Linked DNA regions of Homo sapiens: region 1 is linked to region 2. Evidence: promoter capture Hi-C in human tissues and cell types (Jung and others, 2019). All regions are on one chromosome and are shown on one strand. Each heading gives the region's core, a stretch centred on a gene start or on the middle of the fragment in contact. The rest is flanking DNA. Distances are from core to core; before and after follow the strand shown.

Evidence for each region. The method cuts DNA at HindIII sites, captures the fragments that hold promoters and counts their contacts. A contact is called where the count stands out against the background at its distance.
Region 1: a contact is called between a fragment that was not itself captured here and the fragment with the promoter of ARMC9 in region 2, in 1 of the 25 tissues and cell types used here (IMR-90 fibroblasts).

What each region holds. Positions count from the first base shown.
Region 1 is chr2:231,059,335-231,064,008 of GRCh38, reverse strand. PSMD1 (proteasome 26S subunit, non-ATPase 1) reads right to left here. Exons shown (of 25, transcript NM_002807.4): 2 at 2,699-2,742; 3 at 1,688-1,761; 4 at 1,334-1,503. Among named protein-coding and RNA genes, the nearest start is that of PSMD1, 4.8 kb to the right of the region's middle. The HindIII fragment of the contact is 6,709 bases long and covers 1-4,674 here.
Region 2 is chr2:231,195,611-231,200,323 of GRCh38, reverse strand. ARMC9 (armadillo repeat containing 9) reads right to left here and starts at 1,693. Exons shown (of 25, transcript NM_001352754.2): 1 at 1,626-1,693. RefSeq lists a silencer at 1,548-1,887. The HindIII fragment of the contact is 14,859 bases long and covers 1-4,713 here.

The sequences.
Region 1 (4,674 bases), core at 111-2,610, 140 kb after region 2:
CACTGTTGTAAAAAACCATAAACCTTCATTAAAGAAAAAAAAAAGGCTGGCTGTGGTGGCTCACGCCTGTTAATTCCAACACTTTGGGAGGCCAAAGCAGGAGAACTGCTTGAGGCCAGGAGTTTGAGACCACCCTGGTCAACACAGTGAGATCCTGCCCTGTTTTCAAAAAAAAAAAAATCCATCAAATAAAAGAGATAAGTAAGGTATTTCACCCCCTGCTTCTAGCTTAAAGTGAAGAAAGTAGTCTAGTTTCAAATAATACGGTCCATCCTTTTAAGCCATCAGTTCTTCCCACTGGATTCACAGATGACAGCTCAATTCAATGAGCCTCCAACAGCAATAAAGTAACTTGCAAAATTTTCACATCATCATAGCAAAAACTTTAAAAACATGAACACAGAATCCCAAGGACAGTTGATGGTACCTCTATCAACCCCCTTGTGCAGGACTTCCCAATTTCTAAAAGAGAATACCAACTTCCTCCTTGTAAGTGTTCAAGTGAATAATACAGACCTTCTACTAATCAGCAATGTGAAATATCTGCACTGCACACTCCTGACAGAACATGCCCTTGAGCTCTCTGTACTATGAATCCAAAGTCTGATAAACACATGTCTGAAGGGTATGCAGTCCCTTCTTTCATTTACTACATCAACAGTTTTCAAGCATTTTTTTACACTATAAAATCTTTGTATCAAATCTTACATAACTAGTTGAATTTACAACTCTGGTTGAAATATGTGTCAGAAAATTCAAAGCCTTGCCTGTGTGTTATCCCCTTCCTTCAAAAATAAGGAAACAAGTAAGAAAACAACGGTTACAAATAGAAACAGTATGGGTTTTAGAGTGAGTAAAACCAGGTTTTAAATTTTATCCTTCTATTTAATAACCATGTCTTTATCATCTCAAAATCCAAGTTGTCTCATCTGTAAAACGGCTAGCTCCTTCCTCATGGGGTAGCTGTGGAATAAACCATGGTATGCAGAGTGACTAGCACGGTGCCTAGCACAATGCAGATACTAAATAATGGTTTCCTGTATTCGAAAAAACTACACAAACTGGTACCACTTGTTACTCATACTAATCTGATTTAATCTTTTCCTCTAACAGTAGGCTCACTGGACTGGTGATCATCATAACCACTGAGAACCAGCACTCAGTTGAAGGGCAGATCTAAAAACTCAGCCTGCATAAAATTATTATAGAAAGATTAGGAACTTCCAATTAAAATGAAATTTGGCAACATCAAATTCAGGAAAAAAGCTTCTATGTGCACTACAGCAAGAAAGAAGCCGACAAGATAAAGCCTTACCAGATAGACGATAATTACCTATAATAGTTTCCACATATTCAGAGTTATCATTGACATTGAAGAGGTCCCCTGCTCCAAGAGCATAATTCAGAGACTCCTCAAAAGCCCCCAGGTGATAAAATACTTTAGATGCCACTAAGGCTGCAAACTGCCGACTCCGGAAACCTTCATCTTCGTATAAAACCTCTCTGAAAGAAATTAGGAAGTACAGGTCTAGTTCAAACTGTGGTTTTCCCTAAAAATCCCAAATCTAAATATTCAAGCCACAATTCAGTTAACAGCAAATTTCTAAATGAATCAATAAGCCACAAGACCCACATTCACAATTAAATTTGATCCATCTTATTCTGATTTATAAAAATAATTTCTTACATTTTGTCTACGGACTCGGAAATTTCTGCCCAGAAGTCATTAACAACTGCATTCAATTTGTGTAGTGCAAATTCCTGTAAAAGATAACCAAAATCCTATTTTGAGATAGACTTATCATTACACTTCCTTAAAAAATTCTTTTCAGCAAATCAATGATCAAATCCTCAGTAATATTTACTCAAACTTTTACTCTATGACAAATATAAAAATTTACCAACTTACACTTTTTCTTGAGTTTACACATTTCTTTTCTGTTTTCAATCATCAACATTTTTCTTCTTTGAATATAAACAATTAACTCCAGGTTGCTGGTTTAGATGTAAAGGAATCAAGTATCTAGAGCCACCAGAAGGACATTCCAAATTTTCATCAAATAAAAAACTTTAAATATGTGAAACAGAAGCAACAACTTTTTGTGTTTTCTGTTGATAATGAAACTGGGGCGGGGGAAGCGGAAGGTGTGGTGGCTCAGACCCGTAATCCCAGTACTTTGGGAGGTCAAGGCGGGGGGATCACTTGAGCCCAGGAGCAGGAGTTTGAGATCAACCTGGACAACACAGTGAGACCCCATCACAACAAAAAATTTAAAAATTAGCTGAGTGTGGTGGTGCATGCCTACAGTCCTAGCTACTTGGGAGGCTGAGGTGGGAGGATCATTTGAGTGTAGGAGGTCAAGGCTGCAGTGAACCATGACCACACACTGCACTCTAGCCTGGGTGATAAAGCGAGACTCTGTCTCAAAAAAGAAAAAAGATTAAAAAAAGAAAAAAAAGAAAGAAATTAGGGGGCTATTCAAGTGTCGTAACGAGGTTTATTTGTCTTAGCTTTGTTAAACTCAAGGGAAACCAACTGCTGTGGCCAAAATACTGTCCTCTCTGGCTAGGTTACAGTAACTGGGTACAAGCCAGCTAGGACAGCAACTTTAAATGATGGAAGATTACAGATATCACTAAATTCAAAAGGCTTCACAGTATTCACACTAAGCCTAGTTACTTATTCTTCAATTCATACCTTAAGCTGTGGTTCATCTTCATCCAGAAGAGAAATAATTCCAGCTATGAGAAAAAAGATGTAACATGATTATGAAACACATTCTCACTAAAGTGGAAATTAACACCTGGTCAAAAATACATGATGGCTGAAAAACAATTTTTTTGAGGCGTAACTTCTCCAGGGGAATGATTATTTTTCTTTGAAAGTGTAAAGGTTTATATCTCAAGTTTAAGACTTAACTATATTATCAAACCCTCATGGCACCACATATATTACATCATTTGCCTAATTCAATGGTTTTCAGTGTGTTCCCTGGACTAACAGCATTGCCTGGGAACCTGTTAGAAATACACATTCTCGGCCCCATTCCAGACCTACTGAATCACAAATTATGAGGATGGGGCCCAGTACTGTGATTCTTTTGCTCTCTATAGTTTGAGAACCATTGGCCTAATTTACTGATTAAAATGGGAAACTTTCCTATACAATTTTAGAATAAAATTATTCATACAAAATAAATCAACAGTTATAAGATTATTTACAAAAATGGGAGCATTTAGTCATCAAATCAACAAGGTAAAATACTTCAATTATTTCAAGGTGTGTATATTATGGCACCTCTTTCCTATCACAAGTAACCTGGGTTTTACCAAATGATGAACAATCATACTCATTCTGAATTCAATTACCCAAGCACAGTGTTCTCCATATGGCTTCTCTTAGCCTCAAGGTATTACCACTAACATAGGAGAGTAAAAGGAATAATTGTCCTCTCCAAAAGAACACACCTTGAAATATAGTCAAAGGTCAAAGGGATTATTGGAAAAATGATATGGGAAATTATTGTACTAAGACCACAAAGGAAACCACTCTCAAATGCTTTCCATGTGGGTTTTAAAATCATTCCAGAACACCGAGTTGAAACTGTGGTTTGATTAAAAAGTGTCAAGGCAACTTAGTTAGATGTAGCCATTTCTAATTGACAAGTATAGGTTTGCCAAATAGCTTAAGCAATCTTTAGGAAGCCACACAGGAAAAGATACAAAATTTACCAAGCAAAACTAAAGTAGCATAAAAGCAGATATAAAGAACCTCTTGGTACTCTAGGTTGGTATGACAAGTCCAGAACAGAGATTCTGAATGGACAGCACAGGGAACAGATAAATTTCAAAATTCAATCAGTGAAAAAGAAAAAATTGCAAACTAGTGATGTGGAGTAAGATGACAGGCCAGAATGCTTTAAATGTAGAACAGATCTTAAATAACAGAACACTTAATACTAAAACTGCTACCTATCCTCAGTCAATGTATTTGAACGGCTTTTACCAAAAAGGGAGATGGATTTTTATATTCTCTGGTTTGGTTTCACTTATGACTAACTGGTTACATGGTTGTCCTGGCTTGGAAACTCAGCCTCTGGCCATGGACCAGAACTAAATCAAATACTCTACACTCCATACATTAGTATTTCCCATCTTAAAAACAAAACAGAACTCTCTTCTGGAGAGGGGAGAGAATGGGAAAGGCCTAAGGATGCTAAAAGCCTCTTATGCCGTTATAGGAACTGAGCAGATATTGGTCTAAAACTGTTGAATCAATTGACAGAAATATTTGGATATTTATTTACAAATACGGAGGTATGTTCCAGAAGACACAGCTTAAAAGTTGGGAATACCTGCCTCTGGGGATCAGGAAAGGGAAAGTGAGGTGGGGGACTATTGTTTTAAAGCTTTTTAGCACAACTTTCCTTTATGTGTCTGTATTATGTTTAAAAAAGAAAACACCAACCCACTCAATTTCACATCTCCCGCCTGGAAGCACCTCTCTCTCTCTCTCCATTCCCCTGCATAGTCAAACCTCTTGGAAAAAACTAATAGAACATGTTGACCTCTTATTCACCACTGTATGGTGATGCCTAGCAACTGCCTGGTCAATAAATGAATGAACAAACTGACTAATCCACACCAGAACCATGAGACTAGCCTGTTTAGCAC
Region 2 (4,713 bases), core at 444-2,943:
TAAGCAAGAAAGGTACTCAAGGCATATAATGAATAAATGAAGCCGGAGCTGAGGGGATGTCATTTTAAAGGCCCTGGAACGGGAAAAGTGAGTTTCTGAGAATTTGAAACCTTGAGGCCAACCTCAAGGCCTTTGCGCATATTACTCTCTCCGCCTAGAACACTCTTCCCTCTCTTCACCTGGTTAACCACTGTGCCTAATAAACATCACCTCCTTAGAGTAGACCTCCCTAAGCCGTTTAAATAGTATCTGCTGTGATCAACTGTCATTGAATGTGAGTGCTGCTGGGTATCCTATTACTCAACATTCTTAGAAATTACAGAATTGGCCAGGCACAGTGGCTCACACCTGTAATCCCAACACTTTGGGAGGCTGAGGCAGGCGGATCACCTGAGGTCAGGAGTTCGAGACCAGCCTGATCAACATGGTGGAACCCCATCTCTACTAAAAATACAAAAATTAGCCGGGCGTGGTGGCGTCTGCACCTGTAATCCCAGCTACCAGGGAGGCTGAGGCAAGAGAATCGCTTGAACCCAGGAGGTGGAGGTTGCAGTGAGCCGAGATCATGCCACTCCACTCCAGCCTGAGCGACAGGGAAAGACTCCGTCTCAAAAAAAGGAAAAGAAAAAGAAATTACAGAATTTTCTCTAAACTTTTATATCATAATAGGTATCATTTATTGAAGGTATATGGTATGCCAGGCAATGTGCAAAATGTTTTACATTTAACCTTCATAGTAAACCTGACAGGTGAATATAGTTTATATTTTCCCATTCCAGATGAGGCAATTTGAGGCCCAGGAAGTCTGACACACTCCCAACAGCCACAGTAAGTGACTAAGCGGCTGAAAAGAACCACTACACAGTATTTCCCAAAGTCTGGACCACCTAAATCAGAATCAGCTGGCACGCTTGTGCAAATGAAAATTCCTGCCTCCACCCTGGTCTTACTGAACACCGTGGCAGGCACCATGCCCAGAAATCTGCCTTTTAAACAAGCTCCCTGAGTGACTTTTACACACTCTCAAGTTTGAGAACCAGTGCTCTCCTTTATGCGGAAACTAAGAAAAACTTTTCCAGTTACATTTGGGGATTGCAGCGGCAGCTTTTGAATTCCTATATAAGAAAGATTTAGGGCCCACAAACGGGTGGGATTATGGGATTTGTATGGAAGCCGAATCTGCATAGCACGCATCCTGTTTTTCCTAAGATTAGGTGAAGTCTGGACTTCAACTGGGTGCCTCAGGAACGCGGCTAGCAGATGGAGATTATCAGGGGGATCTAAATCCCGGATAACCCGCTCGCGCCGCCACCACCAGCTGGATGGCTTGAGGGACCCCCTCCAAGTATGGCCCACTGCAGCAAAGATCAGGGACTACTTGCGGGAAGCAGCTGGGCCTGTCCTTTCTTGGGATGTCCAGGCGGCCGCCTCGGCCCTTGCCGAAGAAAGATCCCTGGACCGCAGGCGAGAAGTGGTAGCATCCGGCGGCGGCGGAGCGGGCGCGTCGGGTTTTTCCTCGGAACAAGAGGTCCGCAGAGCCTCGGCCCTCCAAACGCACCGCTGCTCCTCCCAGCACCAGGACGGCGGGCGGAGGGTGGCCCGGCTGCATCCGGGGACGCGCTTACCTGCTGCTCGGCCGCGGACACTCGCGCTATCCCAGCCCGGCCGCCACCTCCGCAGCCGTCACCCGGGCAACCGCCGCCGCCACCCCGGCGTCACGTGGGGGCGGCGCAGCCAATCGCGCGGGGCGCCGCCGACGCGGAGCAGCCTGGGAGGGAAGGTGGGCGACCCCGAAACTTCCTGGCGGCGGAAGTGAGGGTCCACAGCCCAGCAGTGGTGAAGGTTCACGCGCTGGATGACCGCGTCTTCTGTGGTCCTCTCCACCACTCCACTTTCGTTCGTTCATTCATTCGTTCATTTCCCTTTCGTTGCGCCAGTCGCTGCGCCGGCTCTCGGGATGAGCCGGAGCAGGCTCAACCCCTTGTCTCAAGGAGCTCGTGGTCGCGTAGAGAACACAAACTAGGACAGTGTGGTGTCCGTGGGGAAAGAGTCAGGCATGGTTATTCCCATCTTAAAGGAGGGACCTGGGGCCACCTTAGAACCAAAAGTGACGCCCAAGATGTGCATTAAAGCTCCGGGGACCAGGGTCCCGCCCCACTGCAGCGGTTTCCAAGGATTTCAGAGAAACTTTTTGTTTTCCATGTCAAATGTGGGCTATTAAAAATAAATCAGGAGCACACGTCTTCCCTCTCTTTGCACCTGATGCTTTTGAACTGAAGTTCATCAGCACTGAATGAGCACTTGCTAGTCACCCAACTTTGTGCTGGAGGGTGAAGAGATGGCCATGGATAGAAAATCCCTCCCCTCCAGGCGTTGAGATTCCGTGGGAGTCTCTCGTTGCCACCTCAGTGTTTCCACCTCCATGCTTCCAAGAAGGAGGAGGCTACCAGGGCCAGAGACAGGGAATGGGGCACGGAGAAGGTAGGTCAGCTCGCCTTTGAAGAAGCCCTAAGATGGGCTGTGGCCACCACTTCCCCAGTCCCCAACCCTGCCAGTGGATTGTCTTCCAAAAGAAAAAAAGCTGTATTTAGTAGAAGAGAGCCCTATCTTCTGTCCAGGTAATATGGATTGAAAATAAATCTTCAATCCATGGCCATAATATTTATCGTCAACACAACTGTATGCCGGGAGATGCCAGACAAAATATAGAACACACAGTTAAATGTAAATTTTAGATAATGTTTTAGTGTAAGTAAATCCCAAAAACTGCTTCATTTTATTGTGCATGTAGGATGTTATATTGTTCTGTATTTTTGTTTGCAAAACGTGCAGCCTATATGTGTGCCCAGCATTGTGCTAAGTGAATCATATAGATTGTTTTCTTTAGTTCTCACACCAGGCCCGGCACGGTGGCTCACACCTGTAATCCCAGCACTTGGGAGGCCAAGGCAGATGGATCACCTAAGGTCACAAGTTTCAGACCAGCCTGGCCAACATGGTGAAACCTGTCTCTACTAAAAATACAAAAATTAGCTGGGCGTATTGGCATGTGCCTGTAGTCCCAGCCACTCGGGAAGCTGAGGCAGGAGAATCCTTGAACCCGGAAGATGGAGGTTTCAGTGAGCCGAGATCACGCCACTGTACTCCAGCCTGGGCAACAGAGTGAGACTCTGTCTCAAAAAAAAAAAAGTTTTTAATTCTCACACCACATCTATGAGATGAATAATATTTTCAGCATTTTACTGATTGACAATGTTGTAATTAACCTGAGCTGTGTGCTCTTAGAAAACAGCCACAGTTAAGAAATCTCACCCACGCACCCCCAAACCTTTTGTTTTCTAAAATCCTCCACACTTTTGTGTTCTGGGAAGTAGCTTATCAGAAAGAACTACCCTTCCACATATGACTTCATCAGACCCACAGTCCTGTCTTTCTCATGCCTCCCATATGATGCACGGATGACCCCCTTGTTTACCTGTGACAAGGACAAATGCAGACCTTTTCCCTTCTGCCTGAGTCTGCCGGCAAGGCCAAGGACAGACTTTTCAGCTTCTCATTCTTTGTCTCATGGTTGATTAGCTGAGATTAGAGCTGTCTGTTTTGTCTTTGGCAAGATGAACAACATGAGGCATACGGGATTAAGAAACTCCTCAAAGTTTACACCACTGAGGAGACCAGGACTAAACCCAGGTCTCCGTGTCTCTGGACCCTGGGCTCTGAGCTGCCGTGAACACCCCACCTGCTTTGCTTTCCCTCCTGAGTGCATTTGCCTGACTGCCGGGATTATGGTCATTGTGGTGGCTATTGTCTTTGTCTGTCTACCTCCCCTCTCCCTTCTGGTAACATACCCCATCCCTCACCACAGGATGGGCAGATGGTCCAAACTGGACCAATCTTACCCCATCCCTCTGGCCTCAGTGATGGGTCCAGGATGGGCATGTGAGCCAAGCAAAGCCAATGATAGTCCTTCCCTGGGATTTTGCTGTTGAAGTGTGGTCAGGTTATTGTAAAGTGAGACTCCAGGGCAGCCTACAGCATTCACTACATGGGAAAGACTGAGAAGATGAAGCCATTACCTAGAGAAATGCAAAGAAAGTGCTGGGGACATCAAATCCCTGGTCCCAGGATCTGAGTTCCCTGGAGCTGCACTTATTCTTACAGCTCCTCCAGCATCCTTCCAATCAACTGTCTTTTAAATTTTTTATTTTTTTGAGACAGGGTCTTACTCTGTCACCCAGGCTGGAGTGCAGTGGCGCAATCTCAGCTTGCTGCAACCTCTGCCTCCTGGGCTCAAACAATCCTCCCACCTCAGCCTCCCTCATAGCTGAGATTACAGGCATGTGCCACCACGCTCAGCTAATTTTTGTACTTTTTATAGAGACGGAGTTTTGCCATGTTGCCCAGGCTGGTCTCAAACTCCTGAGCTCAAGCCATCTGCCTGCCTCAGCCTCCCAAAGTGCTGGGATTATACATATTACTGCACCCGACTTCAACCATCTTTTTAATTTCAACTAGTTTGGACCTGCATGGTGGCTCATGCCTGTAATCCCAGCACTTTGGGAGGCCAAGGTGGGAGAATTGCTTGAGGCCAGGAGTTTCAGACCAGCCTACACAACATAGCAACATCCATCTGTACAAAAAAAAAAAATCCGTCTGTACAAAAAAAAAATTATTTTAATTAATAAACTGGTTCAAGTTGGGTTTCTGTCACTT